4 separate regions of the Homo sapiens genome follow, and regions 1, 2 and 4 are each linked to region 3. Evidence: promoter capture Hi-C in 16 types of primary human blood cells and fetal thymus (Javierre and others, 2016). All regions are on one chromosome and are shown on one strand. Each heading gives the region's core, a stretch centred on a gene start or on the middle of the fragment in contact. The rest is flanking DNA. Distances are from core to core; before and after follow the strand shown.

Region 1 (5,653 bases), core at 864-3,363, 1.1 Mb before region 3:
ACTGCAGCTTATTAAGCATGTTTGACATGTTGGATAAGATTACGATTTGCTTTGGCAAGAGAAAATAGCTTGAAGCATTACCATAAATTATCTAGTCTACTTTGATGGCAAATGTTTTTGCTACTAAATTCTACAGAATTTAATTTTGCTGAATTCTATTTGAAATCTATTTCTAAGCTCCAATAAAGAGGAAGGTACTGATAAAATACTGTAAGAAAAGTCAAAGTATATACAGGGCTGTAATTTTTAAGAACTCTATCCAGCAAATTAATTTTCCCCAACAACCGTCTCCATTTTTAGGAAGCTGATTCAACCAGTGTTCTCTGGATATCCACTCCCAGCAGAGGAGGTGCTGTCTTATGGTAGGGGCTGAGAGCTGGGGTATTATTGTGGTCTTCTGACCAAACTCAGCAGCAAAACCATTTAGTCAAGTGTGTGGAGGGGTTACTGGCAGAGGCGTGAGGCTGTGAGACTATGGGGAAATACGTCTGGGCTACTAGAAGGCTGGTGGCAGAGATGGTTCGGAGGCAAATGGGCGTTTGCTATGGTTTATCCCCACCAGATGAAGACGATACAGTCCATGGAGGCTGAGTTTTGTTCAGAAACCTGGAGTGACCCATGTAGATTAACATTGCCTTAAATAGACGTGTATGGGGTATTAGTGTAAGTTCTTCCAGGATGGTGATGTAATCTCAAGTACAAAACACTGACTGCTAGACAAGGATTTAGCTGTTTTCTCAATACCAGCAGAAGTTTACTTGCATGGCAATTGTCACCAGTGAGTGTGTGTTTCCTTACAGGATGAAAGAGACAAATAAGTGTCCAAAAGATATGCTGCCTCTACTAGCACTTGGACCCTGCAGGGTCCCTGAGTTTGAGACCAGGCTGACTAACGTGGTGAAACCCCGTCTCTACTGAAAATACAAAAAAAGTTAGTCAGGTGTAGTGGTGGGAGCCTGTAATCCCAGCTACTTGGGAGGCTGAGGGAGGAGAATTGCTTGAACCCAGGAGGCTGAGGTTGTAGTGAACCGAGATCACGCCATTGCACTCCAACCTGGGCAACAGAGAGAGACTCTGTCTCAAAACAAACAAACAAACAAAAAACTTGTATAACCACAATTAATAATTTTCATAAATAAATTTAAGAATTACTTGTGAAACTTAAAAGAGGGGATTTCTAAGTTCCATCATAGACTTCTAGATCAGAATTTCTTGGGTTGGGGCCCTGCAGGGTCCCTGAGGTCCTTGCCACTGCAAAAGGGGTCTCTGGACCGTCAGCAGTGGCTGGAGGCTTGTTGGAAAGGTAGAACTTCAAGCTTCAACCCAAGACCTCTTCTTGAATCAGAATCTGAGTTTTAGCAAGATTCTCAGACCATTAATCTGGACCCTAAAGTTTGAGAAGTACTGCTCTAGGAAATTCTGAATTTCATCCCTGGCCAAGAAACACAGATTTAAGATACTGTTTCCATATGAACACAAAATATAAATCACTTTGCTTGGGAAAAAAAAAGCTTCCTGTGTAACAATGCCCCAAACAGAATGATGTTAACGTCTAGAATGATTGAAATTATGATGATAGATAGATAGATAGATAGATAGATAGATAGATAGATAGATAGATAAAAACAAATTAATGGCTGAAATCCTGAAAGCAATTTTAAAAAACAAACGAAGACTGAGTCTCAACTTGAGAACAATTTCTAAAAGTTTCTGGAAGTGGACATACCTTTGGCATGTTGGATAGTGCAATATGCCTGCTCTCTCTTCGTATCTTGATTGAAAAGTTGGCTTTGAACAACGGTTCATCAAAGCAAGGGAAAGCCATGCGTGCCTGGGTTGGCTCAAAATCTGTTACTGCAAGAATTCTGTGAAAAGACCCACCCCCAGCCAAAATGCACAAGTGAAATCAAGAAGAGAAATGAATCTGTACATTCAGCAAACAGCTTATCAAACCTGGGGGTAATAGACTTGATTTCTCAAACTGCAATCTTTGTGAATCTCAACTGTCTCTTTGAGGAAAATGAAGGTAAAATCTTATTTAGCAGCCATCAATCATAAGCAATGCCCTGTTTTGGGAATGCTAATTACATTATTTCATTCATACTCAGGTCAAACAAGGATATTGAGGCTCAGACAACTTGAATGACCTTAGCAGGATCCGCAGCCAGTAAATGACTGAAATAGTACACATGTTGTCTACATGTCTTCAAAATTCACTAGGAAATTAAATGTTCAGTATTGTCTCTAAACCTGAAAGGGCCTCAGATAGACATTTGAGTAATTGTGTACATGAGTGATGTCCTAAGTTGTATTTCCAGGAAGCAGATCCTGACTTATTGAGAACATCCTGCCAGGAGAAACAGGTAAGGGAGTGAGGGAAGCAGGACAGGGAAAAGGGAGAAGCCAGTCAAGGGTGCAGGACAGGCAAAGTCCCAGCATCAGCCTGATTCCCAGGGAGCTCTGGGATGCAAACTACGCCTTCACGTGTCCCCCACTGGAGGCAAGGAGCTGGACTTTCATATTCTTGTACCATTGTTGGCTAATGGTCTGTCTGTGGCACCTGTGCCCCCAGGTACTTCTAGTTCTCTCTGCTTGCCACTCTTCAGATGATGACAGGTATAATAGATATATACTCTGATAAACTTCTCTACCCCAACACCAGGATATGCCTGAAACTGTACAGTTACAGATTTACTCTTTGGACTTTAAGCTTCAATTAAGAAGTGAATTTGGAGAGCAGATTTTGACTGGAAAAGGAGGGGGGAATAGAATAGCTCAAATAAGAGGGAGAGAGAGGTCAGGAGGGAAAAAAGAGAAGCTGTCAGGATATTTTACTTCAGCTTGCTTTATTTCTATGACACAGGCTGGGAAACTGAGGCTAGGGATGTAAATGATTCACTTGTGGCCTCAAGGTTTTATTTGTATTTGGTAGCAGTTTCTGCAAATGTAAAGGAATTCTAACTGGCTGGAATAATTTTCACTCACATGAAATTTTGGTTGTAACAAGTCTACATTGAAAAAACAAAAAAACCTGAATCTTTGTTGCTTACACGATTCATTGGAACTCTACATGCAAAGTGTGACCTTCTGCATCTCAAAAGAACCACTTTCAACTGAATTATTTGTGTAGTTTAGATGAAGAAGTGAGGAAGAAAGAGAGAGAGATTCATAAGATTCAATTGACATTGTGCAGTACATTATCATACATGTCAGACCTACTAGGTGACTGAGTATGAAGGGAACTGACTAATTAACCATAAGGAGCATCAGGAATAGCCTGCAATTAATCACGGGAGGCATGCTGGAAAGTCCTACAGCTTTACTCCAAATATCTCCCCCTCTCATCTCCCACAGCTCCCAGAATAGTATCCCTAAGATATATGTCCTTTGGATGGGGCCTTCGGCATTTGAAAAAAATGAAAAAAGCCATCATTGTTTATGTGGTGCCTTAGTGAGAAGAAGTTGACACTTTTCCTATCCAATACTGTGCTGAGCCTGAAAACAAGCCCCTGAGGATTGTGGCTGCAATGAGGGGAAGTGTCACCAAGGGAATGTGGAAAGAGAGGAGCCTGGGGAAGAGTTGTCCTAGGTGGATGGCTGCAGGCTGTGCAGTGAGCACCCAAGTGGGGAAGGGAAGAGCAGGATGTAGTAGACACAGCTAGTCACTTCCTGATACCCATTTCCCTTCCTTGGTTCCAGTGGAATCCTGATTTTATTCAGGAAGGCAACAAGTCCAGATAAGAGAGTTACTTCTTACAGGCTACCTTGTGACTTGGTGAGGCTATGACTCATTCTGGTCTAGCTGAAGTCATTGGGTGGGAAATCTTTGTAAAGAGTGTTAGATTCAAGTGGAATGTTTCTTTTTGCCCTTATCTCTCCCCCGTGTCCCCCTTCTTCCTGCCTAGAATGTGGACTTGATGCCTAGAGGTGCAGCAATCATCTTGCAAGTATTAGGAAGAAAGCCATAGGATGGCTGAGCAGAAAGACAGAAGGAGCCTGGGTCCTGGATGACTCTGAACAGCACTATAGCAATCTGAGCTGCCCTACTTCTGGACTTCTTGTTGCATGAGAAAAATATGCCCCTGTGTGGTTAAGCCATGGAATTTAGATTTCTCCAACTGGCAATTGAACACAATTCACATAACGTGAGAGTGCACTGAGCCAGACTCCTCTTACCTCCCAGATGGATCCTGGCCCTGGGAAACCAAGCCGTCCACTCTATGAAGCATCCTTGATTCTTCTATTTCCCTCACCTCACATGACCAATATGTCAGCAATCTCTGTTGTTTTGCCCTCCAAAATAACTGCCAAGTTCAATTGTTTCACTCCATAAGCACTGCCACTAGCCTGGCCCAAATTAGCATCACTTCTTACCTGAACTACTGCAATGACCTCCCAATTGATTACTCTGCTTCTCTATAACATACCCTCAACATAGACTTGATCTTTATAAAGCATAAATCAGAGCAGAATCCTCCAGTGATTTCCCATTTCATCTGAGTTAAAGTCAAAACTCCTTACAAGACGCCCCAAGGCTCCACATGATCTGATCCCTTTCTCCCTCTTGTTCGCTCTCCTCAGCTTACACTGGCCTTCCTCAACCAATCCCACTTTAGAGCACTTGCCCCGAGATGTTCTCATAACTGTCTCTTTAAAAAAAAACTCAGCTCTCAATTTAAATTCACTTCCTCAACAAACACTTCCCTGCCCAGTCAACTGAATTAGTTTCAATCTCCAGCCTCATTTTCTACCTTTCTTGCACCTTGTTTTATTTCATTCATAACACTGGCCAATTACCTTGCCAATTTTATTGATTTTCTTGTCCTGGTTGTCTCTTCCATCAGATCCCACCATTATACATTCAGTGCCTAGTGCAGTGCCTGGCACATAGTATGTGCTCAATGAATGTGACTTGATCAAATTGACTATATTTCTCAATTTTCCAAACTAGTTCCTTGTTTCTGACTATTCGATATGAGTCATGGCTGTTACCTAGGCAATGTATACTTTGTCACTTCCTCTCTCCCAATCCCAGTCTCACTTACATTTCCTTCTGGTCCCAGATGAAGACTCACTTCCTTTGAGAAGCATTCCCTATTTCAGCCCTCTCTGCACTGACCATCTCTTTCCCTAGCACATAAGCATATCTATCATATCAGTCATATACTGGCCTCTCCTCCTAGTTATTCACCCTCTAGCTGTTTATGCCTCTGAGTCCTGTCTTTACATCTCTACTGTGGTTTCCTTAAGGAATGGTAGATCTTTTCCTTCTTCTGGGTTCCCCATAGTTCACTGGATTTCTCATAAATGGCTGCTGAAGTCTGCTCCTGGCAAAGAGATGTAACTCGTAAGGAAATTATCACAAAAGAATGTAAATTACCTGAGCAAGTTCTTACCTTGTTTCACCACCAAGAGTTCTGTATGTGCTTTTATAAAACCCTTCAAAGCCATCACCTAACTTGGCTTGGAAGTCCATAGCCACATAGTATTTCAGGTGAGGCGTAAGTTTCTCTGGAACCAGCAGTGCAATTTGTTCATGAGCAGGGTAACTCAAAACTTTCAGTTCTTTTCCTGGTTTCATGTATCTTGAATCTTCCTCTGACTGAAGGGTGGCATTCGTGATTTCAAGATCTTTGCTGTGCAAGATGATAAA
Region 2 (6,097 bases), core at 1,273-3,772, 1.1 Mb before region 3:
CTAGAGAAATAACTCATACAAACAAAAGCTCTTAGGGGTCCTCGATAAAAAAAATTTTAAGAGTGTAAAGGAGATTCTAAAACCAAAATGTTTGAGAAGCATAACTCTGCCTTCGAAGATAAACTACTCCCAAACTCTCCAGACATCTTGATCCAAACATGCAAGTTTAGTATACTAAAAGCATATAGAGTAAATACACAAAGTAAATAAATACAGAAAGTCTGAATTGCTTCAGTGCAGGACAAAAATGGGACAAGGGGTTTTTTGGATCATCCTGAATTACTGTGTCCAGAAAAAAAAAAATTGAACTTAACTATAGATGCTTCTTTTAACATCCTCAGGCAGGAATGTAAACTCCAAAAACTTATTCCTGTGGAAAAGTAATTTTCTTTATCCTGAGGTTCACAGAAAGAAACTGTCTAAAGTGAAGACTCCTATGATACAGTTGTATCCCCCATCCCGCCCCCGACACCCTGCAAATTCACATATTAAAGCACTAACCCCCCGCCAGGTGCGGTGGCTCACGCCTGTAATCCCAGCACTTTGGGAGGCCGAGGCGGGTGGATCACGAGGTCAGGAGATCGAGACCATCCTGGCTAACACAGTGAAACCCCGTCTCTACTAAAAAATACAAAAAATTAGCCAGGCGTGGTGTGGGCGCCTGTGGTCCCAGCTACTTGGGAGGCTGAGGCAGGAGAATGGCGTGAACCCGGGAGGCGGAGCTTGCAGTGAGCTGAGATCGCGCCACTGCACTCCAGCCTGGGTGGCAGAGCAAGACTCTGTCCCCCGCGCCCCCCGCCAAAAAAAGAAAAAAAGCACTAACCCCCATTGTGATTGCATTTGGAGACAGGGCTTTTAAGATGGTAATTAAGGTTAAATTCGGTCATAAGGGTAGAGCCCTAATCCAATAGGATTGGTGTCCTTGATAGAAAGAAACAGCAAAGCTCGCTCTCTCCACATATGCACAGAACAAAGACCATGTGAGGACACAGCAAGAAGGTAGCATTCTGCAAGTGAGAAAGAGAGCCCTCACCAGAAACTAACTATGGTGGCCCCTTGATCTTGGACTAGTAGCCTCCAGAACTGTAAGTAAATAAATATCTGTTGTCGAAGCCACCCAGTCTGTATTACTTCATTCTAACAGCCAGAGCAGACTACTACACTGCCTATACTATGTTCCCATATAATTACTCTATAAATATACTAAGGAGTAGGGAGAAATGGAGATTTTAAGCGGGAAGGAAGTAGTGAATCAACGTATTCATAGTACCGCACACAATAATTTAAGTTGTGTGGCCATTAATGAGTTGTTTAGGTTTGTTTTCCTCAAAATGTCATTTGATTTTTAACCTTTGATTAACATCAGTACAGAAACATCCACTTTTTTCCCTCCTGGATAGTGTCAGGTCTAAAATTCATGCTTTCATACCTCAGCTCATACTGCAACTAATTCATAACACTAGTTATTAATATTTTGTTACGTCAACTAATAGAGAGTCCTGCCTTTCAGTGGCTTTGCCCAGTTGACAACCATGACACAGCTTAACCTTTACTCTTCCCATAAGGCTACATGAAAGCTTGTGGGACCCATTCATTGCCTTCTCACCAACTCTATGGTATATTAGGAAATTCCTTTTTAAAAGTTGAATTTAATTGGCTTGGGAATTGTTTTTGTGGCTCTCTAATGAAGAGCAAAGTGCCCCAATATAGGTCAGCCAGAAGTCCTTGCAGCACTGTAGGAAGAGAAATTGATTTAATTGCACCACTTAGGTCTCAAACGCACAGCAGCTCTCTAGCTATGAAATAAGAAGATGAAAGAAGAAAGGAGGTAAATGTTGGTTCACTCTTTAATGTTGATTTTGAAAATGCTTCAGAGTAAGAGACTCCTTCCCTCCACATCATCTTCCTTTCCCTCTAACACTGAGAGGGTTTCCTATTTAGCACTGTCTTCTCTGTACAAAGCATAGGGTTTGAAATACTCCAAGTACTCAATAAATTCATTTCAGTGGAAAGGGAAGCTGAATGAACACTAATAAGAATGTTCCAAAAAATGATTTGGAATTACTCTATTTGCTATGGAAAAGTTTACAGAAAAAGGAAAGGTGAGGGGGAGGATGGAAAAGGAAAGGAGGGAGGGAGGGAAGGAGGACGGAAGGATAGACAGACTGACTGACCTCTAATTTAAGAGTCCAAACAAAACTGTTAAATGTTTGTTTTGGAGTTGTTTGGAGTAATATTACTCTCAGATAACATTTATTAAGCATCTAATATGTGTGCAACAAAACACTATGTTAGACGCCAACCATTGTAGCAAATATAAAAGAACTGTGTTTTTGTCTGCTATATGTAATTAATGTTTTTCGGCTGAACAAATAGAACCTATTTGTATGAATAATGAGGTGCTGCATATTGCATTTTCTTGAAGGCACCATGAAAGCATACCTGGGCCAGAATTAAGTTGGATGTAGGAATGTACAGTTCCTCTACTCTTTAGGCTAGTGGCTCCCAACCTTTTTGGAACCAGGGACTGGTTTTGTGGAAGACAATTTTTCCACAGACAGGGGTGTGGCGGAAGTGACAGAGGCAAGAGCATGAAGGGATGATGGTTTTGGGATGAAACTGTAACACCTCAGATCATCAGGCATTAGATTCTCATAAGAAGCATGCAACCTAGATCCCTCCCCAGTGCAGTTCACAATAGGGTTCATGCTCCTATGGGACTCTAATACCACCCTGATCTGACAGGAGAGGCGCCCAGGCGGTAACGCTCACTTGCCCACTGCTCACCTCCTGCTGTGAAGCCCAGTTCCTAGCATGGTCCTTGACATGCAAATTGGGGACCCATGCTTTAGGCAACACTTCCATGAAAGTGTTGCAAATTCAAAATTGTTAATAAATATGAAATGGAAAGAATCCTCCTATAATGGCCTCAAGCCCTTAGTAAAGAATTAGGATCCAAGAAACACCATTAGTTCCCAGCTTTTCAAAACCTCACTAAGGCTGGAATATGCTCAAACCACCACTTATCTTAGACCACTGCTAATTTCAAAAAAGTTTTAAGTTTTGAATGTACATTTTAGGTTTTTAACTAAAGATATTAAGATATTCTGGTAATATCCTTAAGAATCAGAGAGCTAGTGAATAAAGAGCCAGGATTTGAATATGGCTGTCTGAACTTTTCACTTCACTATTATACTATACTATACAGTAGTCAACAAAATAAGGTAGATTTATAAATAGATCTCCAAAATGGAAAAAAAGAAAAAAAGCTACAAAACCAAATGTATCTCCAGTAAAAGGTGTGGGACTGGACCTATAATTCTCAAAGTATGATGGTTTTTGGAGAGGATGCTAGTCTGTATGTTCATATTAATAATCTTTTCGAGAAACAATTCCACAAGAATGTAAGCTCCTCAAAATCAGGGACCATGCTACGTTAATATTTGTAAATTTAAGAACAAAGCTTAGAACAAGGTAGCATACAGTAAAGGAATATTTTAATGCATTTAATGTATCTATTTGGGAGGGCATCTTTTTGAAAATAGAATAGTTTTTTAAAAAGATACACGGGCACAAGTCAAAAGCAAAACAAATAAAAATACTTATTAATGGGAGCAGTTTAAAACAGAATGCAAGAAGAATCTGGGCTGGGCGTGGTGGCTCACGCCTGTAATCCCAACACTTTGGGAGGCCGAGAAAGGCAGATCACCTGAGGTCAGGAGTTCGAGACCTGCCAGGCCAATAGGGTGTAACCCTGTCTCCACTAAAAATATAAAAATTAGCCGGGCATGGTGGTGCATGCCTGTAATCCCAGCTACTCGGGAGGCTGAGGCAGGAGAATCACTGGAACCCGGGAGGTAGAGGTTGCAGTGAGCCGAGATCGTGCCACTGCACTCCAGCCTGGGAGACAGAGCAAGACTCCATCTCAAAAAAAAAAAAAAAGAGAAATTTGTATTAAAATGTTTACACTATGCTTCTTCCCGGATCACCACTGCCCCTTCCCCAATAAAAGAAGAATGAAGCATGGTGACCTGAAAAATGATTTATGCTTTGCTATATTTTCTGTCTAGGTGATAAAAATAAGAGATGAAGAACAAATTACTAAAGTAATGTGAAAAGGAAAAAATTCAAAAAGAGAAAAATGGAAAATCAGAAAAATAGAAAAATTAGGTAGATTTGAATCCTATTATTCTCTGGTTTCAGTAAAATAGAATTAAACCCAAAGCACTCATCTCCCAAGATTTTTTTTGTACATTATATTCTCTCTATATGTAATATTTCTGTATTTAGTTTTCTGGTTGCTATCTGCAGTGGAATATACAACTAATATAAAATATTTATAATAATGTACAAAGTTGTAATAATAACCACGGAGTTCTACTGAACAATTAGGCATTCAAAAACATTGTCAATGCCACAGAGAGTGAAACACATTGTCGATTCTACAGAGGAAGTCCTGTAGTTAAAAATCTGTCTAAAGGACATCTCAAAAGCATCAAATTACCAAGTACAATACAATACTCCATGAACTAAAAAACAGACAAATAGCACGGGAATAAATACTGAGAGCATTTGGTTGCTTTATCCTTGTATTAATCATATGACCATGCCTAAAATTCACATAAAGATACGCTCTTTTAGTCACTTAAAAGACAGCCAATAACCCTGTTGAGGGAAAAATCAAATTATTTTAGCTCCAATTTTCAATTTTCTTTTTCTTTTCCTAGGTTAAATTATTTACATTTATATTTATACAAACTTGTCCCCCCAATCAAATTAACAAAAAATCTTTATATTCCATAGTATTTCTTAAATCTTTCCTCACAATATAGGGTGCCAGTCTTTAACAATGCTTAGGGCCCCTGTTAGATTTAGCAATATAAAGTAATTTACATTGTCAATGATGCCTAAATATTTATGCTTATTAATCTCTCAAGCAAATCTGCATAGCTGCAAATACTTTCACAAGATCTAAAGATAAAAAGTTTACTTTTAAATTCCATCAATTCGCTATACTATAGTCTTAAAAGAACATCTTAACCTATAATTCCTTATTTAAAATGAAAAATTACATTAGACATAATGAGTATCTGTGAGTTATTTAACAAAGAATGCATATCACTGAATGGGATCTGCAAAGGAAATTTATAAGAACTCTTCAATGTATACAGAAAACTTGTGAGTTAAACAAGAAATCTCAGTTGGTGAATACATTTATTTGCCAGATCTCAGAAGGATCTGAACAAAAAATTACCTTGCAGATAATTTTTTGTAATACTTTTCCATGTGACTCATTGGATTGATAAAACACCAGGTATACGACAGTCTTCAGTCTTTATAGTAACAACTTTGTCATCAATTTACAACTGACTGAGGGCCAGTTTGCTTATCATTAACCAACTTAAAAAATTAGTTATGGATTAGTCAAAAGGCTGGGATAGTAACTACATTTTTTCTACTAATAGTCATTGTCATTCGATGATGTGCCAAGACAAGATTCTATGCATAAATTCTTCAAGTCTTTATCGCAATAATATTTCCTGAATTGGTAATTAATTAAAACAGAATTATGCCCAACTGCAGTGAACAACTGGACTGGAACAAAGCTAGCCACACTTTAGTGAACATGTGCTTATTTCCATCTAATTCAACATGCTCTATTATCTAATCCCCAAGTCACACTAGACCCTCTTTTCTATATTCAATTATTTTTCTGTGTGCTTCCTACAAGTGGAATGCTACCAAGCCTCTCAGTATCCTGTACTGATGCAGATGGAAGTGAGGCTGCTGCTTTAAAGAGCAATGCATTTCTTATTCCCACTAATACCCAATACTCTATTGTTCAGTTTGAGTTATCTTCATAATGTAGCTACCCAATCTAGATACTAAGGCGCTGAGCCTCCAGTTTAAAAAACAGAGAAACTACTAATAAGAGGGGGCCAGCCCAAACTCCTGCAGGTGATCTTGATAAATGTGGACACACTAGCTCCTCTCACCAAGACTCAAGTGTCATGGCAGCCTCCCTTATTTCATCATTGAGGCCCTTCCGACAATTATAGGACAAGCAGACACCAGACATGTATTACATTCTTTCTGT
Region 3 (5,896 bases), core at 974-3,473:
GCAGTCCCCATGGCGGCTTTCCATTGAGATGCCCTAAGGTCCATGCTGGGTTTCAGCTCCTGCTGTACAATGCAGCAGAGGCTTCTATGCTTGTCATTTTTCACTGAGTTGAAGCCACAGCATTTTCTGAGAAATGGAGAGGACACCCGTTCTTTGCCATCTCTTTGTCTCCCATTTTCCACATGGTGCCTCACAAAAAAATTGCCTTTAGCTTGTGCCTTATGGCCATCTGTCCTAAGGCTTCAGACACCAGGCAGTCCCCGGGACTGAGTGAGAGGCAGACAATAGTCTCCCTGGATCCCAGCCTCTTGGGGCAGGTGACTAATTTGCAAAAGGTCAGGATACCTAGCTAAATGGTCATTTGGTGACATAGAGGCCATGATTAGTGTCTGCCAACAATTCAGCAGAATGGTTGACAAGGTCAGATAACAACAAAATGAGAGAATGGAGGTGAGAAAGGTACAGACAGTAAATTTCATGAAAGGGCAGAGGCAGGAAAGCAGGAAATGGGGAGTGGTGGTGGTGGTGGTGGCTTTTAACTTGAACACAGTGGCAGGCTGAGGCACCAGGAAGGGAGGAGCCAACAACAGACCGGAGAAGAGAAAGGCTCTGAGTGAGTAGCAGGTGCAAGTCGTGTGGATAAACCTCAGGCTGAGGGAACTTAAGGCAACAGCCTGAGGGCCCTGAAACAGACCCTGGACCTCCTGGCAGGGGCCTCTGGAAGGAGCCTGGCCACAGGGTTCTGAGGTAAAAGAATGAAAAAAGAGAGGAGGCTCAGACTCTGTGGCAGAGCCTACTTTGGAGGGAAGTGGGAAGTGGGAAGTCCGGAGCCCTGACCACGTGAGGGGCCTCCCAGCCCTGCCACATCCTTTTCTCTGGACAGAGCTGTCACTTAGCTCCCCCTCCGTGACTCAGAATCTGGCTTTCTCATTTTGCCATTTTAATTCTAGTAACGATGAGAGTCACAGTAAAAAGCTGCTTCTGGGAGTGGATTTTCTTCCCTTCCCTTGATCGCAGTATGCTTGGGATTCCTCTTACGTGGCAGTCGTGGTGTCCAGCTCTGGCCTTGGCCCCGCCTCTTTGAAGATACTCTGGTTTCACCATAAAACTTCCTGGGGAAAGGATGATTCACGTTTAAAGGACATAGTTTTTCCTTGATTTGTTTATTTAAGCTACCATACACTAGAGGGGGCCGGAACTAGACCCAGGAGTAGAGGACTTTGCTTTGCGGGATAAGGAGAATGGGCACCCTGGGGAAGAGCGAAAGATTTCCTACTGTTACAACCCGTGTCTTATAACACTTGAAGTGAATGTGGTGTCTGAGTTACAACACTACTTCCCCTCACAAACAGTTAAAAGCAGAGGGTCACAAACATAGGCTCAACCAGAAAAAAAGATTCTCATTTCATCTGTAGTTTTGTATCAAGGATTGTGTTGGAATTTGCCTCCATATTAAACTGCTGTTCAAGGGTTACCAACTCAAATGGTTATGGGGTGAAGCCGGTGTCTCAGGCATGGGCCTGTCGTTGGGACCTGTGGCAAACCAAAGCCACTACTTGCCCTATACAAAGGGGGCAACAGCTGTCAGCCCCAGCAGCTTCCACTAAAAGGTGCAAGCTCTGTATTGCCCGACCTGACTTTTCAGAGAGAAGTTTTAAGTCCGAATTGTTTTGTGAGACCTCCAGATTTTTAAATACTGAGAATGAATTCCATTAAAAAGATCACAACAACAAACACCCACCATACAGTCCAAGCAAAATGCTGTGAGAGCAACCTTCATGAGGAGTGCAAAGTCACAGTTTCAATTTCACTTCTTCTAAAGAGATTTCCAAGTGTTCTGTTTCTTAAGTGATTCTGTTTGCATTTTAAAATACAACTGTATCTCCTAGAGGGAAAACAAGAATTTGCTCTAAGAAGTCACTGCCTCCTCAGCCCCTTTGTGAGTAAGCACTTTATGCTTCCCCAGAGGTGACTAAACTCTGATCATTGCCAATGGGCAGGCACTCCCCAAATGTCCAAGGACAACAAAGATACCCAGAGTGTCTTTCATAGCTACCAATGATTAAATAGCAAGTATTGCATTCCTGGGCATTGCTAACTAGTGAAGTATACCAGATGGAAATGTCTTCGAAGCTGTCCCTTTAAAACTCGAGCAAGCTACCAGGCAAACTCCGCCTCCAGGGAGGTTCCTTATTAAATAGGAGCCAACTGGCTGGGTCGGGGCTCAATACCCCAAGCAATACCTGCAACTGAGGATTCTTCCCGGGGAGACCGCAGCCCATCGGCATGGCTCAAGAGTTTGTGAACTGCAAAATCCAGCCTGGGAAGGTGGTTGTGTTCATCAAGCCCACCTGCCCGTACTGCAGGAGGGCCCAAGAGATCCTCAGTCAATTGCCCATCAAACAAGGGCTTCTGGAATTTGTCGATATCACAGCCACCAACCACACTAACGAGATTCAAGATTATTTGCAACAGCTCACGGGAGCAAGAACGGTGAGTTTCATTTTAAACGGCTAGGGAAAGGCTCCCGGATTGCCTTTTCTTGTCAGAGCTGTGCCTTTCTTTAGGATAAGGCTGCGGCTCCGTACTTCAAGGCGTCCAGAGGGCTGTGCGGGGCGGGGGGTGTGGGGGAGGGCGCCTTAGAGAGGATCTCGGTCACTTGAATGAGCGGCGGCACTGCAGCCAAAGGTCTTCACGGGGCAGAAGAGGGAGTACAGCTGATGTCTGCTGTGCGGCAGGGTAAGTGGGACCAGCAGCTTGCCGGTGAGTCCCTGGGGAATTATCTAGAGTCTTTGTTTTAAGCACTGCCAGGAAATGACAGTTTTCAGTTGGCAGGGCTGGAGGTGGAAGCTGGGGTGGAGGGCCGGGTGTGATGTGTTTGTTATTTAACATGAGATTCATGTTCTTCATTCTTTTCTCTAGGCTTTCTTTTTCTAATTTGCTCATTCTTCCTTATCTAATTCCTCCCACTGGAAAAATCTAATGTACCGTTATCTGCCCCTTGTTCTAAATTAATTATGGATGTTTCCAGGCCCCACATTGTAGGGAATCATAGCCTGGAGTTCTGGCCTGGCTCTTATAATGGCTGGCTGTGTGATCCTGGGCAAGTCACCACCCCAGTAGTCCTCAAAGATCCCAGCTGCAAGACCAGATTAGGTGACCTCAGAGTCCCATTTGCTACGAATAGACTGTGGGACCCTCTAAAAATTGCTCTCCTCCATCCGAAAGACTTCCCTCTCTTCAGCATCCTTGGCTTTGCGTCCTGGGCTTCAGGAGGGATGCCAGCCACATCACCTGTATCAGTTCTGCTGTGAGGTGGGATGAGAAATGTCCCACCAGCTCAGCTAAGTTCTCTTTTACGATGCACGAATTCTACAGCACAGTGTTAGGCCAAGCACATATCCTATTTCAGTTTTAGTTTGACTTACAAGGTTGTCTCTGGGTTCTGAGTATAAAGCATTGGAGGTTGTTTCTCTCCCCTTCTCTCTAATAAGAAGTCAGCATTTTGGTGCAGAAAGGGGGCTTAGTGTGTTATCCTACTGCTGTGTGCTGAGGTCCTGGAGTATACACAATGACGAGAGAAGCTCTTGCTGCCTAGTGGGACCACCAGCTGCATAGGATGCCCAGGCCCTGAGAGGTGTAAAGGGCAGTGCAAACACTACTACGGGCCCCACTGTGGCTGCCACCCTGAGGACCTTTTAGCCATTGGTTCCCAAACTTTGCTGCACATTAGGATCACCTAGAGAGCTTTTAAAACAATCCTTATGCCCAAATTATGCCCCTCAATAACTAAATCACAATGTCAGAGGTGGGAGCCAAGCATTAGTTTTGTTTGTTCGTTTGTTTTGAGACAGTTTCATTCTTGTCACCCAGGCTGGAGTGCAATGGTGCAATCTTGGCTCACTGCAACCTCTGCCTCCTGGGTTCTCCTCAACCTCCCAAGTAGCTGGGATTACAGGCGCCCACCACCATGCCCAGCTAATTTTTGTATTTTTAGTAGAGACGGGGTTTCACCATGTTGGCCAGGCTGGTGTCGAACTCCTGACCTCAGGCGATCCACCTACCTCGGCCTCCCAAAGTGCTGGGATTAAACGGGTGAGCCACCACACCTGGGATTTTTATTTGGAAAAATCCCTTGGGGATTCCAATGTGCAACACAATTGGGATTATTGTTCTCAGCCCAACAGCATCTATTTTCCAGGAGGTAAAGCAAACCTCTTCATGTGTTCATTTAACAATTGCTTTTTTTTTTTTTTTGAGATGGAATTTCGCTCTTGTCGCCCAGGCTGGAGTGCAGTGGTGTGATTTTGGCTTACTGCAACCTCCACCGCCCAGGTTCAAGCAATCAAGTAGCTGGAATTACGGGCACCTGCCACCACACCTAGCTAATTTTTGTATTTTTATTAGAGATGGGGTTTCACCATGCTGGCCAACCTGGTCTCGAACTCCTGACCTCAGGTGATCCACCCACCTCAGCCTCCCAAAGTGCAGGTGTGAGCTACCACACCTGGTCAACAATTGCTTTTTCATTTCTTTGTAGAACAACAATATTTCTTGTAGTAATCTTTTAAGGTTTTTTTTTTTTTTTTTTTTTTTAAGAGACAGAGTCTTGCTCTGTCACCCAGGCTAGAGTGCAGTGGTGCAATGATAGCTGACTGCAGCCTCGAACTCCTGGGCTTAAGTGACCCTCCCACCTCAGCCTCCCGTGGCTGGGACTACAGGCATGAGCCATCATACCCAGCTAATTTTTTAAGTTTTTGTACAGATGGGGGTCTTGTTATGTTACCCAGGCTGGTCTTGAACTCCTGGCCTCAAGCTATCCTCCCACCTCAGCTTCCCAGAGTGCTGGGATTACAGATGTGATCCACCTCAACAAGCCTGTTTTTCATTTTTAGAAAAATGTTTTTCACAGATTCTTGAATTCTGAGTGCATTCCTCCTAGGGGAAGAACAAGCCTTTTAAAGCTGCATGTTTGATCCCCAACAGGGAAGTGTTTGTATTCAAAGGGTCTGAAAGCTCCCGAGGGTTTTTTTTTTTTTTTTTTTTTTTTTGAGACGGAGTCTCCCTCTGTGCCCAGGCTGGAGTGCAATGGCGCAATCTCAGCTCACTGCAAGCTCCACCTCCCGGGTTCACGCTATTCTCCTGTCTCAGCCTCTCGAGTAGCTGGGACTACAGGCGTCTGCCACCATGCCTGGCTAATTTTTTGTATGTTTAGTAGAGACGGGTTTTCACTGTGTTAGCCAGGATGGTCTCAATCTCCTGACCTCGTGATCCACCCGCCTCAGCCTCCCAAAGTGCTGGGATTACAGGCGTGAGCCACGGCGCCCGGCCTGATCCTGCAGTCTTAATTATTCTATAAAGTAGCTGTATCTAGTAGGTAATCAGCAGGACATGATTATGGAAAGTTAGTGGCTTCAATCAAGCCATGTACTTGGTAAAACCTGTTTTTGTTTTGCTATAGTCACAGCTCCTAAATTAGTGCCTTCATTTATTTCTCCTCTAATGCACTTTTCTTTACATAGATCTGAGTTTCTGAACTATATCATTTCCCTTCTCTCTGAAGAACTTCTTTGGGCATTTCTTGCAAGGTGATTCCATTGGTAACACATTCCCTCAAGTTTTGTTTACCTTAGAAAGTATTTCTCCTTCGCATTTGAATGATGATTTTACTGGATGCAACAAATATTTTTAAGCACCTACTATGTACCAGACACTTTTATGTACATTGGGGAAAAAATTCTGCCTTTTCTGCCATGAAAAAAACCCTTCTGCCTTTGTTGAACCTATATTCTAGTGGGGGAGACAAACAAATACAGTAATAAAACAGTATGTTGGGAGTTGGTAAGTGGCACGTGCTATGAGGAAAAGTAGGAAAGGTAGGGAGGAAGCATCAGGG
Region 4 (5,740 bases), core at 1,100-3,599, 1.4 Mb before region 3:
ACTTTTAAGTTCTGGGGTACATGTGCAGAACGTGCAGGTTTGTTACATAGGTATACACATGCTATAGTGGTTTGCTGTACCCATCAACCCATCCCATCTACATTAGGTATTTCTCCTAATGCTATCCCTCCCCTAGCCCCCCACCCCCCGACAGGCCCCAGTGTGTGATGTTCCCCTTTCTGTGTCCACGTATTCTTACTGTTCAACTCCCACTTATGAGTGAGAAAATGTGGTGTTTGGTTTTCTGCTCTTGTGTTAGTTTTCTGAGAATGATGGTTTCCAGCTTCACCCATGTCCCTGCAAAAGGCATGAACTCATCCTTTTTTATGGCTGCATAGTATTCCATGGTGTATATGTGCCACATTTTCTTTATCCAGTCTATCATTCATATATATATATATATCCTCTACGATGCCTACATGTAGTACTTTCTCATTAAATACCTGCTTAATAAATATCTGGCATATCTGTAGTTTTTAAAGACAAATGTTTAGGTGTCATCAAGTATTTTAGCATTGACCAAATGTCATCAGTATGTCTAGCACTCACAGTTCCTACTCTTGAAATGGAAAGCCAATACAAATATCAATGATTAGATTTCAAATTGCAATTAAAAATATTTTCAAGAGACGGAAGTGATTATGTCTCAGAATTAGTTGGAGAACTGCATAGTCAGGAAAGCTTCAAGGAGAAGTTAATTTCGCAGGGTTTTGATAGACAAGGCTTTGTGTTGATTATGATTATATAATGATTCCTTTAATTTCAGGTTGAAATGGGCATGAAGAACCATGAAATTGTTCCCGGCAGTTTGATTGCTTCTATAGCCAGCCTTAAACATGGTGGCTGTAATAAAGTTTTAAGAGAATTAGTGAAACATAAACTCATAGCTTGGGAGCGTACCAAAAGTAAGTATTTTGAGGCACCATTTGTGATTTTTCAGGTAATTGGTTTCCACCAGAGCAAGTGTTCCAAAAGTCAAGAAGTAGAAGTTGCCAGACTAGTAAAGCATTAGACGAAGAACTGACAGAACACACTTCGGCCATATCCTATTAGTCAAAATAATCACAGGGCACACCCAGATCAAAGGAGGTGAAAAAAGAATAGTAGTAAGAACATGTAGGTACTGCAGAAGAGCATGTAGGTACTGCAGAAGAGCACGTAGAGTACTGCAGAAGAGCATGTAGAGTACTGCAGAAGAGCATGTAGAGTACTGCAGAAGAGCACGTAGGTACTGCAGAAGAGCACGTAGGTACTGCAGAAGAGCAGGTAGAGTACTGCAGAAGAGCAGGTAGAGTACTGCAGAAGAGCATGTAGAGTACAGAAGAGCACGTAGGTACTGCAGAAGAGCACATAGAGTACTGCAGAAGAGCATGTAGAGTACAGAAGAGCACGTAGGTACTGCAGAAGAGCACGTAGGTACTGCATAAGAGCAGGTAGAGTACTGCAGAAGAGCAGGTAGAGCACTGCAGAAGAGCATGTAGGTACTGCAGAAGAGCATGTAGGTACTGCAGAAGAGCAAGTAGGTACTGCAGAAAAGCATGTAGGTACTGTAGAAGAGCATGAAGAGCATGTAGGTACTGCAGAAGAGCATGTAGGTACTGTAGAAGAGCATGAAGAGCATGTAGGTACTGCAGAAGAGCATATAGGATAAAGCTATTGTGGCTACCATCTTTGGAAAATACAATCAGTAGTCATACCCTAGATCATTACTTCTGAAACCATCTGTGGTGAAGGATTAGTTTTTTCCAACCTATCACAGATCCTTACTTTTATAAAATACAAAAAAATAATTACTAGAAAAATGAAATGGATAACAGATATACAAAAACAGACATAAATTCTAGGTCAAATTGATATACAAATTGAACTTAAATTCCTCCTTTTATCTTGTCACAAACACTTACAGACCTGTCTGTAGGTCACATTTTGATTATCAGTACACTGGAGAAGAAATGCAAATTATAGGAAGAAATTGGAAGCTTGTGAGCCTGGGCAGTTTATCTTTTTCCAATGAAGACTTTATTGTTAAATCTTTCTTATGACTTGAACTTACGTGACTTGGTTGTACAATGTAACTGAAATATGGTCTTTATGCTTTGATTTTTGTCTAGCTGTCCAGGGCTATCGGTTGACAAATGCAGGATATGATTACCTAGCTTTGAAAACACTTTCTTCTAGGCAAGTAGTTGAGTCTGTTGGAAACCAGATGGGTGTTGGCAAAGAATCAGGTAAGTGCTAATAGTACTGTGCAAAGTATTTTCTTTGCTTTAGTTTATGTTTTCCCTTCAGAAACCTTTCCTCTTTTAATTTTCCCTTTTTTCTAACTAAACAGTAAGTTGGAAAGTTGATTGGAAGCAGTACAAATCAGAAGGTGTCCTTAATTAGTAGGTTATTATTTTCTCTGAACGTCTATCACTGAAAATTCATTTATACCAGGAATTAATTTTCTTCTAATAACTCCCAAGATATATCATTATTTATGTGCAAATATACCAGAATCCAAAATTCAAAACACTTCTGGTCCGAAGGTTTTGGATAAGGAGGGATACTCAATCTTTATTAGGAAAAATGACATTTTTGATACAAATAAAATTAGAGAAAGTTAGAATTGTTTTAACTGATTGGAATAAACGTGTAATAATGGTTGTTTTTGAAATTTTGTCTCTAGATATTTACATTGTTGCAAATGAAGAAGGACAACAATTTGCATTAAAGCTTCACAGACTAGGAAGAACCTCGTTTCGAAATTTGAAAAACAAACGCGATTATCATAAACATAGGCACAATGTGTCATGGCTATATTTATCTCGTCTCTCTGCCATGAAGGAATTTGCCTATATGAAGGTATTTATTTTATTTTGTAGTCATGCATTTTTTAGCCAAATAATACATGTGTCTCAAAGGCCTTAATGACAAGTGTGATTCTGTTGTCCCCACATCTCTCTAACCTTAGACTCAATTCCTACAGACAGACTCAATCTTAAATAACTCTGTTGATTATTTGGGCTCTTTTAAGTGATTTCCTTCTACGTTAAGGTATTTTAAATTGTTACTAATGCATAAGGGCAACACATTCTGTAATGCTGACAAGATGAAAGAGCCAAAAGTAATTAATGATGCTGTTACCTCACAAATATGTATGTGTGGATGTATATATATCTATTCAATATATGTAACTATACATATGTCTGTTTCTAATTGAAAACACCAGGTAATTATCATCTGTAGAAACCTTAGTGTCTCAGATAAGTTGGCTAGTTTTTTGTTTCACATAAAGGAACAAACATTTATAGATTTATATGTATATTAAAAATGGTAAAAATTGGCTGGGTGCAGTGGTTCATGCCTATAATACCAGCACTTTGGGAAGCCGAGGTGGGCGGATTACTTGAGGTAAGGAGCCCAGCCTGACCAACAAGGTGAAACCCCATCCCTACTAAAAATACAAGAATTAGCCGGGGATGGTGGTGGCCACCTGTAATCCCAGCTACTTGGGAGACTGAAGCAGGAAAATCACTTGAACCCAGGAAGCAGAGGTTGCAGTGAGTGAAGATTGTGCCACTGCACTCAAGCCTGGGCAACAGAGCAAGACTCTGTCTCAAAAAACAAAAATGGTAAAAATCTTTAGTTTTTAAGAGGTAAGGATGAAGAGAAGTGGGTTAAAGGATACAAACATACAATTAGAAGGAATACATTCAATGTTTGATAGCAGAGTAGGGTGACTATAGTAAACAAAATGTATTGTACTCAGGAGATGAACACACTAAATACCCTGACTTGATGACTTCTCATATATACTTAACAAAATGTTACATGTACCTCATACATTTATACAAATAGAAAAAAATGCTTAACCTGGCAGATGAAATGTCAAAATCTCAAAGACGGTTTTCTCAGGGTTAGGCCTATTCATTGCACTTCAGGTGTGCTGACCCCTGCAGTTTCCCCAAATATTGGAACTTGACTGCATATTTTGTGGCACTGGCGGACTACATTTATACTGTCCCCTGACATTAAAAAAAAAAATCCTTTATTTTTAACTTTGCCTTCAAAATTAAGTTCAGCATAGATTGTTAAATATAATAATATCCAAATTAAATATATCCAACAATAACTAAGTTAAACAAAAGATAATATTGTGTTTTTATAATCCTGCCAGTAGGATTTGTCATAGTTTATCTTCATTTTTCAAAACAATGTGAATTAAAGATTGCTACAGTGTGTGAACACCTGTTTCTTGAGGATTCAGCTTGTTCTTTGAGTGGGTTATATACTTAAATTTTCACTAATCATGGGAGATTTCTTAAGGCAGCATAAATTAGTAATACTGATACCATACATGTCAATGTACTTCTTATACTAATAGTTTGTATCTTGTAATATTCAGTCAGTAAATGAGCAGCTTGGTAGGGATCATTTACACATTTTCCCAAAAGGGTAGTAGGTGTTTTTCAGGATATTTATATTGAAGGTATAGGAATGGAATCTGGTTGCACATAAATGCACTCCTTAATGTATTGATTATTCATAAGAGAGGAACAAGAAGATAAAGATTGGGCTATAGCATGAGGTCTAGGCGATAGCACAAGTTCTAGACAAATATTCACAATCTTTAAGTTTATCACGTGCTATTGATCTGTCTAGGTATGCTCAAAATGGTCTACACTGAAAAAAAGTATTTAAAAACAAAGCAAAGAAAAATATCTGGGAAGTGGGAAGTGGTTTGGTTCTTGTTCACAGAAGGTAAGCAATAGACAACCTTTTGAAATTAATTGCTGGGGTAGTGTAGGGTGAAGGAGTGGATGCCAAAGAAATAACCAGTACGATCTGTGTCTTAAAGTTGAGAAGATAACACATGAAACAGAACCTTTTATTTATTTATTTATTTATTTATTTATTTTCAAGACAAGGTCTCACTCTGTCACCCAGGCTGGAGTGCAGTGGCACGATCACGGCTCACTGCAGCCCCTACCTCCTGGGCTCAAGCCATCCTCCCACCTCAGCCTCCCAAGTATCTAGGATCACAGGCATGTGCTACCATGCCTGCTTTGTAGAGACAGGACCTTGCTGTGTTGCCCAGGCTGCTCTCAAACCCCTGGCCTCAAGAGATTCACCCACCTCGGCCTCCCAAAGTACCGGGGTTATAAGCGTGAGCCACCACTGCAAGTCTAAGAACAATTTTTTTTTTAATTATATACTGAATTTAGAGAAACTTCAGTAAGTGATAGAATAGTTGATGGAGGAGGTTTCAGGTAGTGAGTGGAGCTGAGTGGAGCCATGAAGCTTGGATATTATTTGACCCTAAGACAGTGCATTTTGGCAGAGAAGTGGTATGGGCAATGACATGAATCTATGTGAGTCCTATGTGTTTAGGTGACACTGAGGTGACTGTCCTGACTGCGTTTCTTGGTGTGTATTGGAGAGAATATTGGGAGAACTAGGACTGTACAGGTGGATTAAAGAGTTTTGAAAACCAGGAAAAGTTTATATTTACAAACTGAAAAGAAAATTTACAGCCAATGTAAAAAAAAACTTTTTTTGAGGTGTAGTCTTGCTCTATCACCCAGGCTAGAATGCAGTGGCACGATATCAACTCACTGCAACCTCTGCCTCCCGGGTTCACGCGATTCTCCTGCCTCAGCCTCCCAGGTAGCTGGGACTACAGGCATGTGCCACCACGCCTGGCTAATTTTTTTGTATTTTTAGTAGAGATGGGGTTTCACCATGCTGGCAGGCTGGT

The links. The method cuts DNA at HindIII sites, captures the fragments that hold promoters and counts their contacts. A CHiCAGO score of 5 or more calls a contact.
Region 1: a contact is called between a fragment that was not itself captured here and the fragment with the promoter of GLRX in region 3, in 2 of 17 cell types (activated CD4 T cells and non-activated CD4 T cells). The highest score is 7.8, in activated CD4 T cells.
Region 2: a contact is called between a fragment that was not itself captured here and the fragment with the promoter of GLRX in region 3, in 1 of 17 cell types (non-activated CD4 T cells). The highest score is 6.1, in non-activated CD4 T cells.
Region 4: a fragment that was not itself captured here is called in contact with the fragment with the promoter of GLRX in region 3 in 1 of 17 cell types (total CD8 T cells); the score reaches 5.9 in total CD8 T cells.

Annotation. Positions count from the first base shown.
Region 1 is chr5:96,880,004-96,885,656 of GRCh38, reverse strand. ERAP2 (endoplasmic reticulum aminopeptidase 2) reads right to left here. Exons shown (of 19, transcript NM_022350.5): 2 at 5,397-5,653; 3 at 1,727-1,865. It also overlaps a transcript of ERAP1 not described here. Among named protein-coding and RNA genes, the nearest start is that of ERAP2, 6.3 kb to the right of the region's middle. RefSeq lists a silencer at 1,007-1,181. The HindIII fragment of the contact is 1,199 bases long and covers 1,514-2,712 here.
Region 2 is chr5:96,945,966-96,952,062 of GRCh38, reverse strand. All of the region lies in intron 1 of LNPEP (leucyl and cystinyl aminopeptidase), which reads right to left. Among named protein-coding and RNA genes, the nearest start is that of LNPEP, 13 kb to the right of the region's middle. The HindIII fragment of the contact is 1,886 bases long and covers 1,580-3,465 here.
Region 3 is chr5:95,819,053-95,824,948 of GRCh38, reverse strand. GLRX (glutaredoxin) reads left to right here and starts at 2,223. Exons shown (of 3, transcript NM_001118890.2): 1 at 2,223-2,493. The coding sequence starts at 2,287. RefSeq lists enhancers at 975-1,475, 1,706-1,795, 3,712-3,851. The HindIII fragment of the contact is 7,969 bases long and covers 1-5,896 here.
Region 4 is chr5:97,174,220-97,179,959 of GRCh38, reverse strand. It overlaps RIOK2 (RIO kinase 2), which reads left to right. Exons shown (of 10, transcript NM_018343.3): 2 at 767-905; 3 at 2,112-2,228; 4 at 2,669-2,844. It also overlaps the pseudogene RNU1-73P. Among named protein-coding and RNA genes, the nearest start is that of RIOK2, 6.2 kb to the left of the region's middle. The HindIII fragment of the contact is 736 bases long and covers 1,982-2,717 here.